Linked DNA regions of Homo sapiens: all the other regions are linked to region 2. The links are contacts of gene promoters, found by promoter capture Hi-C in blood cells and fetal thymus (Javierre and others, 2016). All regions are on one chromosome and are shown on one strand. The core of a region is centred on a gene start or on the middle of the fragment in contact, and the rest is flanking DNA. Distances in the headings are between cores, read along the strand shown. Region 1 overlaps MYO1D (myosin ID). Region 2 holds the start of PSMD11 (proteasome 26S subunit, non-ATPase 11). Region 3 overlaps MYO1D (myosin ID).

Region 1 (3,047 bases), core at 262-2,761, 160 kb after region 2:
AGGGCCTTGCTCTGCATTAGGCTTTGGTTTAAGGGAATGTTGTGGCTGGTTTGATCTTTTATCCAGACCACTCAAACTTTCTCCGTATCAGCAATAAGACTGTTTCACTTTCTTATTATTCATGTATTCACTGCAGTAGCACTTTTAATTTCCTTCAAGAACTTTTCCTTTGCATTCACAACTGGGCTGTTTAATTTAAGAGGCCCAGCTTTTGGCCTATCTCAGCTTTCAACCTGCGTTCCTCACTAAGCTTAATCATTTCTAGCTTTTTCTTTTCCCTTTTTTTTTTTTTTTTGAGACAAGGTCTTGTTCTGTCACCCAGGTTGAAGTGCAGTGGCACGATCATCGCTCACTGCAGCCTTGAATTCAGCCTCTTAAGTAGCTGGGACTACAGACTACAGGTGTGCACCACCATGCTTGACTAACTTTTAAATTTTTTTGTAGAGATGGAGTCTCACTATGTTGCGCAGACCTTGGTCTGGAACTCCTGGCCTCAAGCAATCCTCCCGCTTTAACTTCCCAAAGTGCTGGGGTCGCAGGAATGAGCCATGATACCTGGCTCATTTCTAGTTTTTAAAATAAACTGAGAGATGTGTAACTCTCCCATTCACTTGAACATTTAAAAGCCACTGTAGGGTTATTAACTGACCTAATTTCAATCTTGTTGTATCTCAGGGAATAGGGGAGCCTGAGGAGAGGAAGAGAGATGAGGGAATAGATGGTCAGTGGAGCAGTCAGAACGCACACGACATTGATCAGTTAAGTCTGTTGTCCTACATGGGTACAGTTTGTGGTGCCCTGAAATGATTACAGTAATAACAAAGATCACTGATCAAAGCCCACCATAGCAGTTAATAACAATATAAAGTTTTGAAATATTATGAGAATTATCAAAATTGCTGTGGCAATTTGTTAGCTCCTAACAAAAGAGTCAGCCTGTCCTTTGAAGCTAGGCATTGACCTTCTCCTCTCTAGCTATGAAAGTTCTAGATGGCATCTTCTTCCAGTGTCCAGAGACATAAAGTGAGCATATGCTGTAGGAAAAATGGTGCTAATAGACTTGATCAATGCAGGGTTGCCATAAACCTTCAATTTATAAAAACCACAATATCTGTGAAGTGTAATAATGTCAAGAACAGTAAGACGAGGTATACCTGTACTTTATTAAAGATTGTCTTCAAATGTTTTAGCAAACATAAAATATGTGGGTGTGTACTTGGAGAGGCAGAAATAATGGGTCTGGATTGAATAAAGACTGCAGGAGGTGAAAGAGAGACTAATTTATACTTAGTTGGTTTTTGTTTCAAGATTCATGTGAAAGGAAATGCCAGGAAAGTTCTGGCTTCAACTCATGGTGATGAGGAAAAATTTATTCGAGGACATGCTTTGTCTTGTTTTGTTTTCTTTTTAAATCATGGAATATCTCAAACATCAGTGTATTTTTCATCTAGAAGTTCGATTTGGGTCTTTTTCTTACATCTTCCTTATCTCTAGTTAACTTATAAACATCTGAAATCTAGTTATAATGACTTACAATGTCTGTATCTGCTAATTCTAGTATCTTTGTCTGTTCTGGGTTGGTTTCAAAGGGATGATTCTCCCCCTCATAATGGACTGTATTTTCCTATTTGCATGCCCGTAATCTTTGACTGGATGTCAGACATTGTGAATTTTACCTGTTGGGTATGGATATTTTTGTGTTTTTAGAAATATACATGAGCTTTGTTTCAGGACATAGCTAAGTTACTTGGAAGCAGTTTGATCCTTTTGGGTCTTGCTTTTAAGATTTATTAGGTGGTACCAGAGCAGCATTTATTCTAGGGCCAATTATTCCCCCCTACTGAGGCAAAACCCTTCTGAATACTGTACCCAATTACCCTGTGAATGACGAAGTTCTTTAGTCTGCCTTGTTAGATCAGAAACTACTCCTGGCTCTTTGTGAGGCTGGGCACTGTTCCCTCTGGTCCTCTTAGCTGGTTCTTGCCTCAGCCTTGGGAAGTTTTGAGCCCTTTCCTCCCAACTGCTGACAAGAACACATCTCAGAATGTACTTTAGGGAAATTATCTGGAAGATAAAGAATTGGTCTGAAGTTAATTCCCTCCCGAACCTTTGGATTTCCATAATTAACTCAGGGACAAATAAGATTATGTGCCACAACATCATGCTTATAAAATACAATGTGAATTTCAATGTCATGGCAATGATACGATAGTTGACAATAAAGGAAAATAGCTAGAAAAAATCAAATTAACCTTTTCCCAAAAAGTAAATAGTAAGTTGATGACTAAAACTCTAAGTCAAAATTTCAAGCCTGACTTTTCTGGGGTCTGGGAGGAAAGATTTTATCTCTCATTTCCACTTCACTCTTAATTCATAAGATAGAAACACCAAGAATTAAAAAAAAAAAATCCACCAAAAAATTCCTAGCATCTTGATAGTCTTCTCTTCACATTTATAAATTTTAAAGAAATTAAAAATCCTTACATACATTAAAGATAGAGGACATACGCCTAGAAATGTACCTCAGCATGCATATGCTAGCTAGGAAAAGAAAGCAACTGATGAAATCTACATCCAGGTTCACGTATTTCTGTCACTTGTAGAAGGCACTTAATAGATCAGAATTTGCTAAATAAGCACCCAGATAGAGATAAAATACTTCAATCTCCCAGGCAAAAACTCTTGCATTCATTAGTACTGGTATCCAAATTAAGAGTAACAAATTAAAATTCCTTTAATTTTCTATACTTTGCTATAAATATTAGCAGGAAAATAAGCTTGCTTATTTGAGTTATAGACATTTATTGCAGAGATGCCTTCTTTATGTCTTTTCCTTACATTCTAAACTTTTTTTTTTTTTTTTTTTTTTGAGACAGAGTCTCCTTCTGTTGCCCAGGTTGGAGTGAAGTGGCGGGATCTTGGCTCACAGCAAGCTCCGCCTCCCAGGTTCACGCCATTCTCCTGCCTCAGCCTCCTGAGTAGCTGGGACTACAGGTGCCCGCCACCAAGCCCAGCTAATTTTTTGTATTTTTAGTAGAGACGGGGTT
Region 2 (3,119 bases), core at 355-2,854:
CCATCCCCCCTCCTCACATCCGTGGAAAAATTGTCTTCCACAAAACTGGTCCCTGGTGCCAAAAATGTTGGGGTCCACTGTTTTATGGTACTCCCTCTTTGTAGTGAGGCCAGCACTCTATCCTCTCCTATGATTTCTTCTAAAGCCTCCCACCTCAGCCTCCCAAGTAGCTGAGACTACAGGCGTGCGCCACCATGCCCGGATAATTTTTGTATTTTTAGTAGAGTCGGGGGTCTATGTTGCCCAGGCTAGTCTCAAACTCCTGGGCTCAAGCGATATGCCCACCTCGCCCTCCCAAAGTGCTGGGATTACAGGCATGAGCCACCGCGCCTTGCTAGAAGCCATTTAATCCAACTCTCCATCAAAGTCATGAATCCTGTTTACAACAACCTGATGAGATGTCAACTACTTTTCACGTGAACACACCCAGGAATTAGGAAGGCATTCCCTAACCGGCAGCTCTTATCTCTCCCAATCACGATTTGAGCTTCACCAAATAACTCAAACCCCTGTTTCCTCACATATTAAAGGGGAGTAAATATCTGCTTTACAGAACATTGTTGGGAGAATAAAAGGAGATAGAGGAATATAAATGGCCTAATCCACTTACAGAGGAGGGTGTGCAATGTTAGTCCCCTTTTTGCCTCCTTTTATGGGACAGCACATTCCATTTTTGGATCGTCATCACCTAGAGAAAGGTCTTCCTTAATACTGAATTGTCTTTGTATCCTTTTAGCACCTTTCTTAAGTTTAACCCTAAGTGGTCTCATAGAATGTCATTTTTCCGTCCACACGACGTCTTCACTGATATCTGTGACTTTAGTTGAAGGGGCTGAAGATATTGGGAAGAATAATTCAATTTTTTCCTTCCTCCGTCCCTCCCTCCCTCCCTTCCTTCCTTCCTTTTTTTTTTTTTTTCTTTGAGCTGGGGAGCTGGGTGAGGCTTCTGTGGATTCCCAAGAGGTATTTGTGGCGTGAATGGAGCAAAGGTGATGTTTCACTTCATCACGTCCAGCACTGTCCCAAGGTTAAATGGGCGCGTGAGGACAGTTTTCTCCGGTCCTGGCGGGTTTGCCCACCTGCCGGCCAGCGTTCTGCGGGAGTCAAGCCTGGAAAGCGTGTGTGCGGCGCACAGGCGTCAGACACTGGAACGCATTCGAATGGTGCTATTCTTTGCCACATAGCGAGCACTTTATAAGGTCACTTATCGTCCCGAATGAATGGTTAAATCGTGGAAGCCGCAAAGAAAGCCACGCAGCTTTGACTCAATACCTAGCCCAGTACTCAGGAACCCCTCTCAGGGGTGCGCGAGCGGGGCCGGAATCAAGAAGCCTCTTTTGGGGTGGGCGGGGACCGATCTAGAGCTCCCACTGCGGGGCACCGCCTCTTTTCCTCGCCGGCCGCCCGCTAGGAGGCGCTGGGGAGCTTGCAGCCCACCTGCGAGGCGGTCCCGCTCTCCCCACCCCTCAGCCCGCGCCCGGCGGAGAGACTACAACTCCCGGAGTGCTCTGGGAACGGAGCCACGGGAGCTACAGGCGGAGGGACCCGAGGGCGGGCTTTCCGGGTGTGTGTTTCCGGCGTCGGCGGCCGCGGCCGGGGACGGTGTGAGAGCGGTAAGATGGCGGCGGCGGCGGTGGTGGAGTTCCAGAGAGCCCAGTCTCTACTCAGCACCGACCGGGAGGCCTCCATCGACATCCTCCACTCCATCGGTAAAGGTCGCCGCGCCGCCTCCCCGGCCCCGCCGGCCCAGCTCGGCTTATGTCGGTCGGCGGCAGCGGAGAGGGGCCCGGCTAGCCGGCTCTGATGCTGCTGACTCACTGTGTGAGGGGGGCCGGGCCGGGGGCGCAGGCCGCTCGGAGCTCCCCAGAGCCTCCCAGGTCTCACTCTTGTGGGAGGGCTTGAGGCAATCCCCGGGTCCCCTCGCCGGCTGCTGACTCACGGGGGGCTCAGCGTAGGGTGGGAGAGTGGGCCGAGCCGGGCCCCCGGGGATCCCTCCCTAGCCATGTCCCCGGCTCTGGCCCGCACGAGCTGGTCTGGGACCCGGAGCAGTGCCGGCCGGCGTGCTTGTCACGGACTGGTCCTAGAGTCTCTACTTGAAAGGCCTTGGCGAAACCAGCTCTGGACAGGCATTTCCCGCCGTTGTAATCAGCACAGCCTGCTCCGGGTGGGAGCGCGAGCGCTTGCTCTTCTCTGGGAGTTTCCTTCCACGGGACGCTGGGAGCTGCTACTCCTCAGCCCCACGGCAGAAAGCTCCACTAAGAGGAGGGTCTCTTTCAGAATGTGGGAAATTCAGGGGTGACACACACCTCAGATTGGCATTTGGTTTGTGGAGGTGGCCGAGACGCTCATCTGCTCTGTGTAGGGTGTAAGAGTGAGGTGTTGGAGCGGGACCGCCTGGCTAGAGGAGGTGACTAATCTTTCCAGACTGCCTGTAGGGGTTGGAAGTGAGTTAAGGGAGTTAGTTGTCAGCCGCGGAGTTCAGGGAATTCTTTGGAACGGGTCGGCTGCATGTTGCCGGAAAAATTAAAATTTCTTAACGCTGTAATAACGATGGTCTTACACCTACACACAACAGGAAAACTGAAATGGGAATCCCAGCCAGTCGCTTCCGGCAGCTTTCTGTTGGGATTCAAGTGTGAACAGAAATTTATTACGACAGAAGAAGACGTTAATGTTCACTCATAAAGGATTCAATTAGGGCTTGGACTAGCTCTTCACTGCACATGTAATGGCATCTTTGTAGTGTAGTTTGGGAAGATCTGAATTGGCTCAACAAGTAGTATGAGAATGCACCTGTATGTGGGACTTGCAAGATGTTGGCATTTGACTTAGTGTGTTGAATTTTGGTATTCCAGACCTGCACGGAGAAAGGACAATGACAAGATCTTGATACTTTATCATTGGGGATACTAGAGAAGGAGAGGAAGTGGGCGTCAAGGTGTATCTTTGAATGATATTGGTAAAAGGTGTTTCATTTTAAAAGTTCTGATCTTAGGTCAGTTACTTCTACGGAACCAGAGTCATCTCAATCACCGTTACATGGATATTTTATTCTGAGTACACACTATTATTTAGAACTAATGTGAGGAGCATGAATTTTAATAGTCTGTGTCTAGTGT
Region 3 (2,882 bases), core at 182-2,681, 180 kb after region 2:
GGTAGATGATAGAATTTATTGAATGTGTGGAAGACAGTAAAAGCTATGGATGGATTAAAAAGGTTCTCCTAGCTTAGAAGACTGATGGTTCCCATGTGTTCCTTATCAAAGCCAACCCTTAATTACAGCCTTAAAAGCTTTATTCTTACTGGTTACCTTGCAGGTACTTTCTCCTTTCTCTCCTCATGCCCCTCCCCAAGCTCTTGTCCACGGCTTCCAAATCCATGTCTCTGCTAAGGACTGAGAATGTCTGTGACCTCCCATATGTTGAAACCCTAATCCCCAGTGTGATGGTATTTGGAGGTGGGGCCTATGGGAGGTAATTAGGTCATGAGGGTGGAGCCCTCATGCTGGGATTAGTGTCTCTATAAGAAAAGACAGGCCAGAACCTGCTTCCTCCTCTCTTCCCCATGTGAGGATACAATGAGAAGGCAGCCAGTCCTCTGTGAACTGAAAGGAAAGCCCTCACCAGAGCTCAAACATGCTGGCACCCTGATCTTGGACTTCCAGCCTCCAGACTGGGAAATAGATTCCTGTTGTTTAAGCCACTCGGTCTGTGGTTTCTTGTTACAGCACCCCATGCTAAGACAGTCTCCATCCTAGGTTGCTCTTTGACTGTGTATTGGGCCTTGCCTCAAATGAAGCCCATTTGAGACTGACCTTTCTCACACTCTGCTACCACATCCCTGCTTCTTTTCCTGTATTTCCCATCTTGGTGAGTCACCAGCACCAAAGCCTGTTGTTCTCGCACATAAACAGGTCTTGAACCCATCTCCCCCTCTTTATGGTCCTTGCTTGAGTACAGGTCCTTGTAATTTCTTAAGCAGCATCTTAACTGCTTTTCCTGTCACCAGTCTTGACCTCTCCAGCTCAACCATCAACACTCATTTATTGAACACCTACTGTATGGCAGGCAGTGTTCTGGGAACAAGAGAGTCCCCGACCCTTCTCCCATGGAGTCTATGTTCTAATGGGGGTGTGGGGGAGCCAGACTGAAAAGAACTCTAATAATGTGACAGGTGGTGATGTGGCCTGTGAAGAAGAATAAAGTGTGTAAAGGCATACAGAGGGATAAGATGGAGCTGAGGGTATCATTCTGAACAAGCCTTTTAAAGTTATATTTGGGCAGAGGCCTGAATGAAGTAAGGAAGCCATTCAGTTATCTGGGAGAACACTCCAGGGGAATGAAAACCGAGATCAAAGATTAGACAGTGAGGGCACTGAAAGCTGACTTCATCCGACTCTGATTTCTACAGGCATGGGATTGCCAGTTTGCAAGGGGGCAAAGAGCAGTTTCTAATTCTAGAGCACCTGACTATGTGATAAGAACGATGCTGAGGACTTTCCACGCATTATTTCATATACCTCATTTTGGGCCTCAACATTCAACTGAGATGGGTGCTACTGTTAAAATGGGGCATGAATTCAACAACCACCCATCTGCTTCCAAATATCCTAACACTTGTGTTGCCAGACCCCACTGGGGTGTGATTTTTCTTTTGTCCTTTACCATTTATGGTGTAATGATCTTTAAATGCAATATAAGATATTTTTACAACTCAACAAGATTTGTGAAAGGCTATCAGAGGGGATGGTAAGGGCGGACATCAGAGGTGGCTCCCAAGAAGCAGAATGGCTGCTCAACAGGAGCCAAAGTAGTAGTTCAGCTAACTCAGGAGAGAGGACCCTGAGCCTGTCAACTTTACTTGTTCCCACTAGATATACCTCTAACCATGGCACACTGTAAAGAGGTCTATGCTTAGATATGGTTCCAATAAAATGAAATCCTTCTAATGTTTATTATATTAAAAAAATCAGATTCCCCCTGTAGTGCAGAACTTCATCGTAACAATTCTGTGTAAAGAAAGTTTGTTCTGGACCTCAGCCAATAACAAAGAAACAAACTCATTTATTTAATGGCTACAGTCCAGGACCAGTATAGGCCACCTCCCAGTGGTATGTGTGTGGTAGTGGTGGGGATGGGGGGTCGTTGCTAAGTGAGACAATATATGCAGAGGTCCACTATAAGGAATGAAAATCATCAAATATAAGGTGATTTCTTTATCTTATACTACTCTTGTTTAAGGAAAATCTTTTGATGAGACTGTCCTCAAACATTAAACCATGGTCAATGACTTAAAGAAAATTTAATTTTTGATACAGATACGCGATCATGAGGCTTTCTAGAAAACACACACTCTCTCCAACTCTGTCTCAGTCCATTTAGGTGGCTATGACAAAATACCATAAACTGGTGGCTTATAAACAACAGAGATTTACTCCTCACGGTTCTGGAAGCTAGAAGTCCGAGATGAGGGTGCTGGTGGCCCTCGTCCAGGTTGCAGACTGCCAACTTCTCGTAGTGTCCTCACATGGCAAAAGGGCGAGGGTCTCTCTGGGGCCTCTTGTATAAGTCGATAATCCCATTATGAGGGTAGAAACCTCCCAAAGGTCCCATCTCCGAGTTCCATCACTTTGGGGGTTAGGATTTTGACATATGAATTTTGGGGGAACACCTTCAGACCTTAGCACTCTGTGTCTCTCTGTCTCTCTCTCACACACATATACGTAAGTGATAAAAAACTCTAATGGCAGAACTGAATTTGGGAGCAAGTCCAACTTTTAACAGATGTTTCCAAGGAGCCAAAACAACAAAAGTGAAAAAATTTGGGGAACAGAATAGATAAGTGGTTCTCATCTCTGGCTGCATAGTGCAGTCACCTAGGAAGCTTTATTTTATTTTTTCTTTAAGTTTTTTTTTTTTTTTTGTAGAGACAGGGTCTTGCTATGTTGGCCAGGCTGGTATTGAACTCCTGGGCTCAAGCGGTCCTCTCACTTTGGCTTCCCAAAGTGCTGGGATTATAGGTGTTAACCATTGCGCC

Evidence for each region. Contacts are between HindIII fragments. The CHiCAGO score rates a contact against its expected background, and 5 or more counts as called.
Region 1: a fragment that was not itself captured here is called in contact with the fragment with the promoter of PSMD11 in region 2 in 2 of 17 cell types (naive B cells and non-activated CD4 T cells); the score reaches 6.9 in naive B cells.
Region 3: a contact is called between a fragment that was not itself captured here and the fragment with the promoter of PSMD11 in region 2, in 2 of 17 cell types (naive B cells and naive CD8 T cells). The highest score is 5.7, in naive B cells.

The regions. Positions count from the first base shown.
Region 1 is chr17:32,600,675-32,603,721 of GRCh38, forward strand. The region is part of intron 21 of MYO1D (myosin ID); the gene reads right to left. Among named protein-coding and RNA genes, the nearest start is that of CDK5R1, 120 kb to the left of the region's middle. The HindIII fragment of the contact is 2,527 bases long and covers 249-2,775 here.
Region 2 is chr17:32,442,906-32,446,024 of GRCh38, forward strand. It overlaps PSMD11 (proteasome 26S subunit, non-ATPase 11), which reads left to right and starts at 1,605. Exons shown (of 14, transcript NM_002815.4): 1 at 1,605-1,709. The coding sequence starts at 1,619. RefSeq lists a silencer at 1,325-1,494 and enhancers at 1,386-2,001, 1,615-1,694. The HindIII fragment of the contact is 4,191 bases long and covers 1-3,119 here.
Region 3 is chr17:32,621,465-32,624,346 of GRCh38, forward strand. The region is part of intron 20 of MYO1D (myosin ID); the gene reads right to left. Among named protein-coding and RNA genes, the nearest start is that of CDK5R1, 140 kb to the left of the region's middle. The HindIII fragment of the contact is 2,592 bases long and covers 136-2,727 here.